Linked DNA regions of Homo sapiens: region 2 is linked to region 1. The links are contacts of gene promoters, found by promoter capture Hi-C in human tissues and cell types (Jung and others, 2019). All regions are on one chromosome and are shown on one strand. Each heading gives the region's core, a stretch centred on a gene start or on the middle of the fragment in contact. The rest is flanking DNA. Distances are from core to core; before and after follow the strand shown.

What was found. The method cuts DNA at HindIII sites, captures the fragments that hold promoters and counts their contacts. A contact is called where the count stands out against the background at its distance.
Region 2: a fragment that was not itself captured here is called in contact with the fragment with the promoter of NEURL2 in region 1 in 2 of the 25 tissues and cell types used here (mesendoderm cells and thymus).

The regions. Positions count from the first base shown.
Region 1 is chr20:45,887,564-45,892,457 of GRCh38, reverse strand. It overlaps NEURL2 (neuralized E3 ubiquitin protein ligase 2), which reads left to right and starts at 1,250. Exons shown (of 2, transcript NM_080749.4): 1 at 1,250-2,208; 2 at 3,585-3,824. The coding sequence starts at 1,467. The coding sequence ends at 3,700. It overlaps CTSA (cathepsin A), which reads right to left and starts at 1,123. Exons shown (of 15, transcript NM_000308.4): 1 at 1,079-1,123; 2 at 696-889; 3 at 431-542; 4 at 135-185; 5 at 1-60. The coding sequence starts at 889. It overlaps SPATA25 (spermatogenesis associated 25), which reads left to right and starts at 4,836. Exons shown (of 2, transcript NM_080608.4): 1 at 4,836-4,894. The coding sequence starts at 4,868. RefSeq lists enhancers at 787-836, 1,076-1,785 and a silencer at 877-1,146. The HindIII fragment of the contact is 2,972 bases long and covers 1-1,907 here.
Region 2 is chr20:45,489,181-45,493,819 of GRCh38, reverse strand. The region is part of intron 1 of LOC107987282 (a long non-coding RNA gene); the gene reads right to left. It also overlaps the pseudogene RPL5P2. Among named protein-coding and RNA genes, the nearest start is that of WFDC2, 22 kb to the right of the region's middle. The HindIII fragment of the contact is 6,084 bases long and covers 1-4,639 here.

The DNA.
Region 1 (4,894 bases), core at 1-2,500:
GTCATCGGAGTAGGAGAAGCCCACCCCAGCTGGGGACTCCAGGTATAACACATTGGCAATCTAGAGGGGAGGGAAAAATTAGCTAAATGCCACCCCATCCAAGTGCCCAGACACACCCACAGCTCCAGCTATACCAGATTCCAAGAATAGGGGTTGTACTCCAGGGTGACACCATCTGGCTGGACCTGAGGAGGAAAGAGATGGCTGAGTAAGTCCCAAGGGCCAGCTGGGTGGAGGGAAAGGGCCACCATGAGAGGCACTTTACATGTGGGTAAAACCTCTGAGAGGTACAGGCAGCAAAGCCAATGGCATAGAGGAAAATCCCGAGGCTTAGAAGGAAGGAAACTTTTTGGAAAATCACAAAGCCCCTCTCTCGCTTTCCCCAGCCTTTTACTTTGGGAACTGTGCTTTCCCCCTGCTGTCCACTCACCAGGAAGGGGCCATGCTCTGTGAGGAGCCCATCTAGTGAGCTGCAGCCGGGACCCCCATTGAGCCAAAGCACCACAGGGCTGTTCTCGGGATCCTTCTGGGACTCCACAAACCTGGGAGGGGGGTCAGGGCAGGGTTGGCGCAGTTGGAGGGGCCCTTTCCAGCCCTCCCGGCTCCCAGGCATCCTCAGGGGTCTGCAGAACTACCCCCCATCCCTCATCCGTCATCTCTTCTCCCAATCCCGCCCAGAAGGCAGGGCGGCAGACCAGTAGTGGAGGTGCTTGGAGCCGGAGCCTTTGAGGTAGCCGGAGTACTGGCGGAAAGACGGCTGCTTGGCCAGCCCGGGGAGGCGCTGGATCTCGTCCTGGTCGGGGGCTGCCTCGCCTCGGGACGCCCAGGACACTAGCAGCAGCAGCAGCAGCAGCAGCAGGAACAGCGGCGGCGGCGCGGCTCGGATCATCTACGGGAGGCAGCAGAGGGGCTGTTGACTCGCTCCTCAGCGCTTCCGTGCAGCAGCCCCCGGGGAGTTGCTGGCGGCGCCTCCGCGAGGGAAGCCCCGGCCCCAGCGCCAGCTCCCACCCGCGAGCCTCCTCTGCCGCGCACCGATCCCGGGCTCGGGGATCCCCTCCAGCCTCCGGTGCCAGCTCACCTCTGCTCCCCCGCGTCCTTGCTCTCCAGGAGGCGCCCGGGGACTGGAAGTCATGTGTACGAGTCACGTGAACTCCGGCGCCACGTGACAGTCTTCCTCCCGCCCCTTCTTTGGTCCCTACGGACCTGGGGGGCGGTGGCGGTCAATGCCGGGTCAAGGTCCGCGGGCCTCGCAGATCGTAGCCCGGGCGCACGCGATCAGATGATCCTGTTGTGGACGGCTAAGTTGTAGGCGGGATGGCTGAGAAAGCGGCGCTAGGACCCCCGGGCAGAGGCTCGGGGAAGGGAGTCAGGGGGGAAATGCCTTACAAGGTCGCCTTGCGGTCACCATCATTGCCCGCCGCCCAAAATAGCCCCCGGCGCCAGCTGGCCTGCCCTATGGCCGAGAGATGGCTGCTGCCTCCGAGCCCGTGGATTCGGGTGCACTCTGGGGACTCGAGCGCCCGGAGCCCCCTCCCACCCGCTTCCATCGGGTGCACGGTGCCAACATCCGCGTGGACCCCTCTGGGACGCGGGCCACACGCGTGGAGAGCTTCGCCCACGGCGTGTGCTTCAGCCGCGAGCCGCTGGCCCCGGGCCAGGTCTTCCTGGTCGAGATCGAGGAGAAAGAGCTGGGCTGGTGCGGACATCTGCGTCTCGGTCTGACCGCGCTGGACCCCGCCAGTCTGGCCCCCGTTCCCGAGTTTTCTCTGCCCGATCTGGTCAACCTGGGCCACACCTGGGTCTTCGCCATCACGCGCCACCACAACCGCGTGCCCCGGGAGGGCCGCCCGGAGGCGGAGGCAGCGGCCCCCAGCCGACCTCCAACCCTCCTCGTGGAACCATATCTGCGCATTGAGCAGTTTCGCATTCCCCGGGACCGCCTGGTGGGCCGCAGCCGGCCAGGGCTCTACAGCCATCTCTTGGACCAGCTCTATGAGCTGAACGTGCTGCCTCCGACCGCGCGCCGTAGCCGCCTGGGTGTCCTCTTTTGCCCGCGCCCCGATGGCACGGCCGACATGCACATCATCATCAACGGCGAGGACATGGGCCCGAGCGCCCGGGGACTGCCAGCTGCGCAGCCCCTCTACGCGGTGGTGGACGTGTTTGCTTCCACAAAGAGCGTGCGCCTTGTCCAGCTCGAGTATGGCTGTAGGTATCCCTGGGCAGCGACCCCTCCTGGCTCAGTGTGGGGACTGGAATCTACTAGGGCTCCGTAGCCCATGTGCTAGGCCTTCGTCTGTCCGGCACTAGTTTAAGAGTGGGAGAATCTAGCTTCAAATTGCACCTCTGCTTGTGATCTTGCACAAGCCTCTACATGGTTTTGGGCCTTGGTACCTATCTTGGTTGATTGATTAAGATGCCCTACAAGTTCCCTTTTAGTTTTGATAGTGTTTCCTGTATTCACCTAGGGCAGGGATTCTAAACCAATTTTAGATATTAGGGGCCTCTTTGAGAATTGTTTGCCCTTTTCTTAGAAACATGCTTGGCCGGGCACAGTGGCTCACACCTGTAATCCCAGCACTTTGGGAGGGGGAGGCAGGCAGATCACTTGAGGCCAGGAGTTCGAGACCAGCCTGGCCAACATGGTGAAAGCCTGTCTCTACTAAAAATACAAAAAGTAGCTGGGTGTGGTGGCATGTGCCAATAATCCCAGCTATTCAGAAGGCTGAGGCAGGAGAGTCACTTGAACCCGAGAGGTGGAGGTTGCAATGAGCCGAGATCTCACCAGTGCACTCCAGCCTAGGCAACAGAGCAAGACTCTGAAAAAAAAAAGAAAGAGAGAGAGAGAGGAAGAGAGAGAAAGCAAGCAAGCAAGCAAGCTAGCTAGCTCAAGCCTGGGCAACAAAGTGAGACCCCATCTGTACAAAAAATTAAATAATTATCTGGGCATGGTGGTGCATGCCTGTAGTCCCAGCTATTTGGGAGGCTAAGGCAGGAGGATCGCTTGAGCCCAAGAATTGAAGGCTGCAGTTCACTGAGCACTGCACTTCAGCCTGGGTGACAGAGCAAGACCCTCTCTCTTTAAATAAAAAAAAAAAAAGAAAGAAAAGAAAGAAACATGCTCATAGACTTGGGCATATTGGCTATTGGCTTCGAGGCATAACAAACCCCAGACTGAGAGCTTCTTAATGCTGAGTATGATTCATTATAGCCCTGGTAAGCATTGCAGTTATACCTCTCATCACATTTCATGAACTCAATGCACCAGAACCCTCTTTGTGCCAGGCCTGTGCTGGAGGCTTCAGTTGCACAGGCAAATCAGACACTACCCCTGCCCCCAGAAGCTGCTAAGTGAATGGGGAAGGGATTGTGCTAAGTGTTATGATATAAACAGGGCTGCAGCTTTGTGGCAGCTCTCAGGAAGAGGTGCTTCTCTCAGCCCCATGAAGCAGGCTGGGCCCAGAGAGCAGTAAGGACTTGCCCACATTTAATGACAAAGTGGGGACCATGACCTAGACCTTCTGGATCTTGGCCTCAGACCCACCCTCCAGTTCAGTTTGCCTTTCACAGTCTTCTTCCCACAGTGCCATCCCTGCAGACTCTGTGCCGCCTAGTGATACAAAGGAGCATGGTGCACCGGCTGGCCATTGATGGGCTCCACCTGCCCAAAGAACTTAAGGATTTCTGCAAGTATGAGTGAAGACCCACAGTGCACCAGAGCACAGCTGCATCCTGGAGCCCCAGACCTGTGGCTGGCTGGTCCGAAGTTGGCCACATTGCTGCCAGCCAAGACCAGAAATAAACAGCCGATGCTGACATCTTGATCACTGGAAGGTCTCCTTGCCCCTACAGCCTATGAGAGTCACTTCGTTTAGAATCACTGCAGGTCAGCAGGTCGGAGCAAAAGAGCAGGGGTCCCTAGGCTGGCTGCTTGTTAGAGTCATCTTAGGATATGTAAAGAGTGCTGGTGTCCCACATCCCATCCCTAGGGATTCGTATTTGATTTGTTGGGAAATTAGGCCTAGACATTGTGTTTTGTAAAAGCTTCTCAAGAGATTCTCATGTACAGCCAGGGTTGAGAAGTATGTCCCTAGAAAAAAGGTTCCAACTTTGTCATATATTATAATCACTTGAGGAATTTTGAAAAATACCAATACCTGGCCTGTAATCCCAGCACTTTGGGAGGCCGAGGTGGGCAGATCACTTGAGGTCAGGAGTTTGAGACCAGCCTGGCCAACATGGTGAAACCCTGTCTCTACTAAAAATACAAAAGTTAGCCAGGTGTGGTGGCAGGTTCCTGTAGTCCCAGCTACTCGGGAGGCTGAGGCAGGAGAATTGCATGAACCCAGGAGGCAGAGGTTGCAGTGAGCTGAGGTCTTGCTCCTGCACTCCAGCCTTCCAGTCATGGCGACAAAGTGAGACTCTGTCTCAAAAAAAGAAAAAGAAAAATACCAATACTGGGTCTGACCCGAAGTCTTACTCTACAAGGCACGAAGCACTTGGCTCCTGTGTTTCCATCTCTGGTCATCTGCTTCCATACAAATGATCTCATTTCATCCTCAAAACTCCTAATGAGGTAGTGGGCAGTCATCAGACACACTTTACAGATAAGGATATCAAGGAACAAAACTATCTGGGTGACTCGTTCAAGGTTAGGGCAAGAACCTAGAACACCCAGCTCCTGGTCTGGTGCTCTTTTAACCTCATCCTATTGTCATGTCCAGGTTCTAGAATGAATAGGTCAACGCTGTAAAGTGGATTCCAAGTGTGAAGGGGAGGGTCTATGAGGTGACATTCTAGAAGGGTGAAGAAGGGAGGACAGGCGGCAGATCACTATTCCCTCACAAACCGGGGCTTTGGGGAAGCCATGTCCTACTTCAGGACTCCACAAACT
Region 2 (4,639 bases), core at 1,301-3,800, 400 kb after region 1:
ATCTCCACTCACTGCAATTTCCGCCTCCTGGGTTCAAGTGATTCTCCTCCCTCAGCCTCCTGAGTAACTGGGATTACAGGCGTCCGCCACCATTCTTGGCTAATTTTTTTCATATTTTTAGTAAAGACAGGGTTTCACCATGTTGGCCAGGCTGGTCTGGAACTCCTGACCTCAGGTGACCCAGGGAATACATTTTATGGAACCTGCTGGTTCAAGAAGAACCAGCTGAGCCCAGCCTAGATCAGCTGAACCCCAGCAGACCCACAGATATGGGAGTGAGAGCGAATGATTGTTGCCTTAAGTCACTGAATTTTGAGTTGGCTTGTAATTCAGCATTACTATGATTATGTTAAATGTTGTGTCTCAGGGCTCTGCGGTGTTTTAGAAACCAAGGAAGGAATACTTCCAATAAGGGAAACAATAAAGGTTTGTTTAAGGAAGCCAAGATTTCTACCTGACAGTGTGGGGGGCCTCATACCACTGGATGAAGAGTTTTTTGTTGTTTGTTTTTTGAGACGGAGTCTCGCTCTGTCCCCCAGGCTGGAGTGCAGTGGCGCCATCTTGGCTCACTGCAACCTCTGCCTCCCGGGTTCAAGCAATTCTCCTGCCTCAGCCTCCCAGGTAGCTGGGATTACAGGCACGCACCACCACACCCAGCTAATTTTTTTGTATTTTAGTAGAGACGGGGTTTCACCATGTTGGCCAGGCTGGTCTCGAGCTCCTGACCTCGTGATCTGCCAGCCTTGGCCTCCCAAAGTGCTGGGATTACAGGTGTGAGCCCCCATGCCCAGCCTGAAGCATTTTTTTAAGCCAGCTTTTGCCTGCCCTGTTGCAGTGACCTACCTGCCCTCCCTGGTTCTGCATCTCCCCTGTAGTATTCACAACACAGCAGCCAGAAGGATCCTTTTCCAACTGAAGTCATATGTCACTCTTCTGCTCAAACTCCTCCAGTGGCTCCCAAATTTGCTCCAAATAAAAGGCAAAATCCTTGCAATGAGCCACAAGGCCCTTATTCTCTGTGCCCATGCTACCTCTCTGACTTCAACTCACCTCAGGCTCCTGACCACTCATTCACCCCAGCCATGCCAGCCTCCTGGATGATCCCCAACACCCTGAGAACACTCTGACCTCAGGTCCTTTGTTCTGGAACTCTCTTCTCTCTAAATTCCTCTTCTCATGGGTTGTCACGCAGCTCATGTCCTCCTTCACTGAGTTCACTACTTGAATAATACTTTAAGACCTTCCCTGACTACTTTGCAAAGTAATCACCCCCATCTCTACCCCACCCCCAGACTCACTATTCCTCTTACCTGTGTATTTCTCCATAACTTTTCCTCCACCTAACATGTTATATATGTGTTAGTTCATTTATTTATTGGCTATCCTCTCCACCGCACACACACACACACACACACACACACACACACTCTTTTCCTTCTATCAAATCCCCACCACCTAGAATAGAACACATAGTAAGTGCTTTATAAATATTGAATGAGTGAATGCCTCTGCTGATGTTGTTTCTGGGGCAGGACCTTCCCCTCCCTGACTGGTCTGTCTTTAGAACTTTATTTTCTAAGCTCCAGCTCACTCATGTAACTTCTTACTATCGCTCCAACCCCAAACCTGCACTTTCCTGCAGAGAAGATGTCTGTTTCCATGTAGGTATTACCATACATGGCTTCCTGGGCTGGGGATGGCCTTTAGAGGCATCTGCAAAGCAGTTTGCCATCGGAAATGGGAGAAAATAAGTGCGGGAAGAAGCCCTGCCCTGACGTCTGGAGGGGCAGCTGGGCTGAGTGGTTCTGTGAGGGGCCTTGAGGTTGGCTGTCCCATCTCGATCCACCTGTTTACTGGGATTCCTGGGCCCTGGGAGCTGTTCTCCTGGCCAAAACTAAGCTTTGCTGTGGTCTGCCTATATCAAGTGTGGCCCATCAAGGCCTGGAAGAGGGGGAAGAGACCAGTCTGGGACCCTGTCCTTTTTCCTTCCCCCTTTCCAATCACAAATCTTCAGAGTCCCCAACCTACAGCATTCACTTGGCTGCAAAAGTTGATCAAAGAATGATCGTAGGGCTTCCGCCTTGCCTGGCCCCCCTTGCACGCTGCAGGTCTGTGTCAAGCCATGGACACAGCTCTCTGTTCCGGAGGATGGAGTGTGTTAAAATTGTTAAGAGTAAGGCCTACTTTAAGAGATACAGATGACATTTAGAAGACCAGTGGGTTAAACTGATTACTATGCTCAGACACACTTGGTAATCCAGGATGAAAATAAGTAGAACACACCAAAATTCAGGATAGTTCATGCAACTAACAGAGAGATCATTTGTCATATGGTTTTTGCCCACACAGAAGGGAATATGATTGTCTGCACAGCATATGTTCATGAATGTCTAAAGTGTAGCATGAAGGTTGGCCAGCCAGATTATGATGCAGCACATTGTACTGGCCTGTGCTGACCCGAAGGCCCCTCAATAGTCTTGGCATGGACAACACCTATGAAGGTCAAGTGGAGGTGAGCAGAGATGGGTATCACATGGGAAGCATTGATGGTTACTTGGTGCCTTCACTTGCTACTTGCCAGAACTACCAACGGAAATAAAGGTAGGGGGGCCCTGAAGGGAGGTGTGGATTGAGGTTTTCTATCCCTCACAGTTACCAAACAATTCCCTGGTTCCAATTCAGAAAGCAGGGAGTTCAATGCAGAAGCACATCCTGGGTCAGAAGATCGCAGATTATATGCATTACCCAATGTAAGAAGATGAAGATGTTTACAAGAAACAATTTTCTCAATACATAAAGAACAACATAACTCCAGTCATGACGGAGAGACATGTAAGAAAGCTCATGATGCTGAACAAGAGAATCCAGTTCACGAGAGGAAGCCTGGGGAAGAAGTTAAGAAAAGGTGGAACCATCCCAAGACGTCCCCTGTCCAGAAGAAAGACTGAGTAGCTCAGAAGGCAAGTTTTCTAAGAGCTCAGGAGCAGGCTGCTGAGCGCTAAGCCAAACAACTATTTTCTTGTCTTTTCTTTTTCCTTTTTCTTTTTTTTTTTCAGAGACAGAGTCTCGCTCTGTCACCCAAGTCAGAGTGCAGTGGCACAATCATAGCTCACTGTAGCCTCCAACTCCTGGGCTCAAGCAATCCTCCCCCACTTGGCCTTCCAAGTACTTAGGAATATAGGCACGTTCCACCACGTCTGGCAAATAGTCATTTTCTATAAGATTATTCAGATAAAAACAATAAACTTATTGACCAAGCAGCTTAAAAAAGAAAATTAAAGGAAGGGTCTCAGCCAGAGGTTCTGCCTCGTCTAACCCACCCCTGCTTTCTTACCTGCCCCATCCCACCTCTCAGTCCTCCTTCCCTGGTAGCTTCTTCCTGTGCATTACTGAGATCCCTGGCAACTTCCACCTCATCTTCTGCAGGAGGCCTCTGGGCTAGGGACCCCTTGAAAAAGCTTTACCCCCTCTTAAGCTTCTGGTGGAGGGCCTGAGGTCCCATCTCCTTTGGACCCCTGCTCAGGGTCCCCTGTGCAGTCTTCTTACTCAGTAAAACCTCAACTGCCAGGTCTGACTTTTCACCATTAGCATTTTATTTCTTGAGTTAAATCAGGGGTAGCAAATCTATCTATCAACCCCAATCAATGGGCAGCTGTAGCAGCTGCCTGGAGCCCTGTGCTGAGGGCTCTGTGGCCACACATGGGCTAATGGAAAGGAGCAGCAATCATGTGATATGGGTGCTGGTGGAAGAAATGATGGCATGTGGACACCTTTGCCATCCCTGGGTTAGACATCACCCTGCCTGGGCCACTCTTTCAGAATGCAAACCTGTAGAAGGACAGGAGAAAGTGGAGCTAGTGGTAGTCACACACCGAGTTCCCAGCAACTCTTCCCAACCCATCACTGGATGCCTCTGTTTCTGCCTAAAAGGTTGGGGAGCCCCGAGCATGGACAAAAATAGAAATCAGAAAGTGGGGAGCTGGGAAAATCTACACTGCCATCTCTGGCCAAGGGGCTATCATATGCACAAAGCATCCCCACTCCCACCAGGAGGCTCTATCAGTTTGTGCCCCTGGGAGTGAATGGAGATGCCCTGGGGCCTTGTCTGGTCCCTGGTCCCTGGTCCCACAAGAAGATGAGGAAGATAAAGCCTGATAGACACCAAGCCAGGCTGGCCAGATATTCCAGACAATGTCACTGAAACTTTCCAGATCTCTCATGTTCCACGGTGGGTAGAGAAGGGAAGGACATGAAGGCTGTTCCTGGGGGGCCAGAGTCACTGACATTACTCCCTTATTCTCCTTCTCCCTCACCCCAAAGGATAAGCATACACCCCAGGATTAAAGTAAGAAATCATTGTGTCAGAGGCCTTCCAACCAGAGTGACTCCATCTTGAATAGGGGCTGGATAAAATAAGGGTGAGACCTGCTTGGCTACATTCCCAGAGGGTTAGGCATTCTTAGTCACAGGATGAGATAGGAGGTTGGCACAAGATACAGGTCACAGACCCTGCTAATAAATCAGGATGTGGTAAAGAACCCAGCCGAAACCCACTGAAACCAAGATGGCAATGAAAGTGACCTCTGGTCATCCTCAATGCTTATTCTATGCTAATCATAATGCATTAGCATGCTAAAAG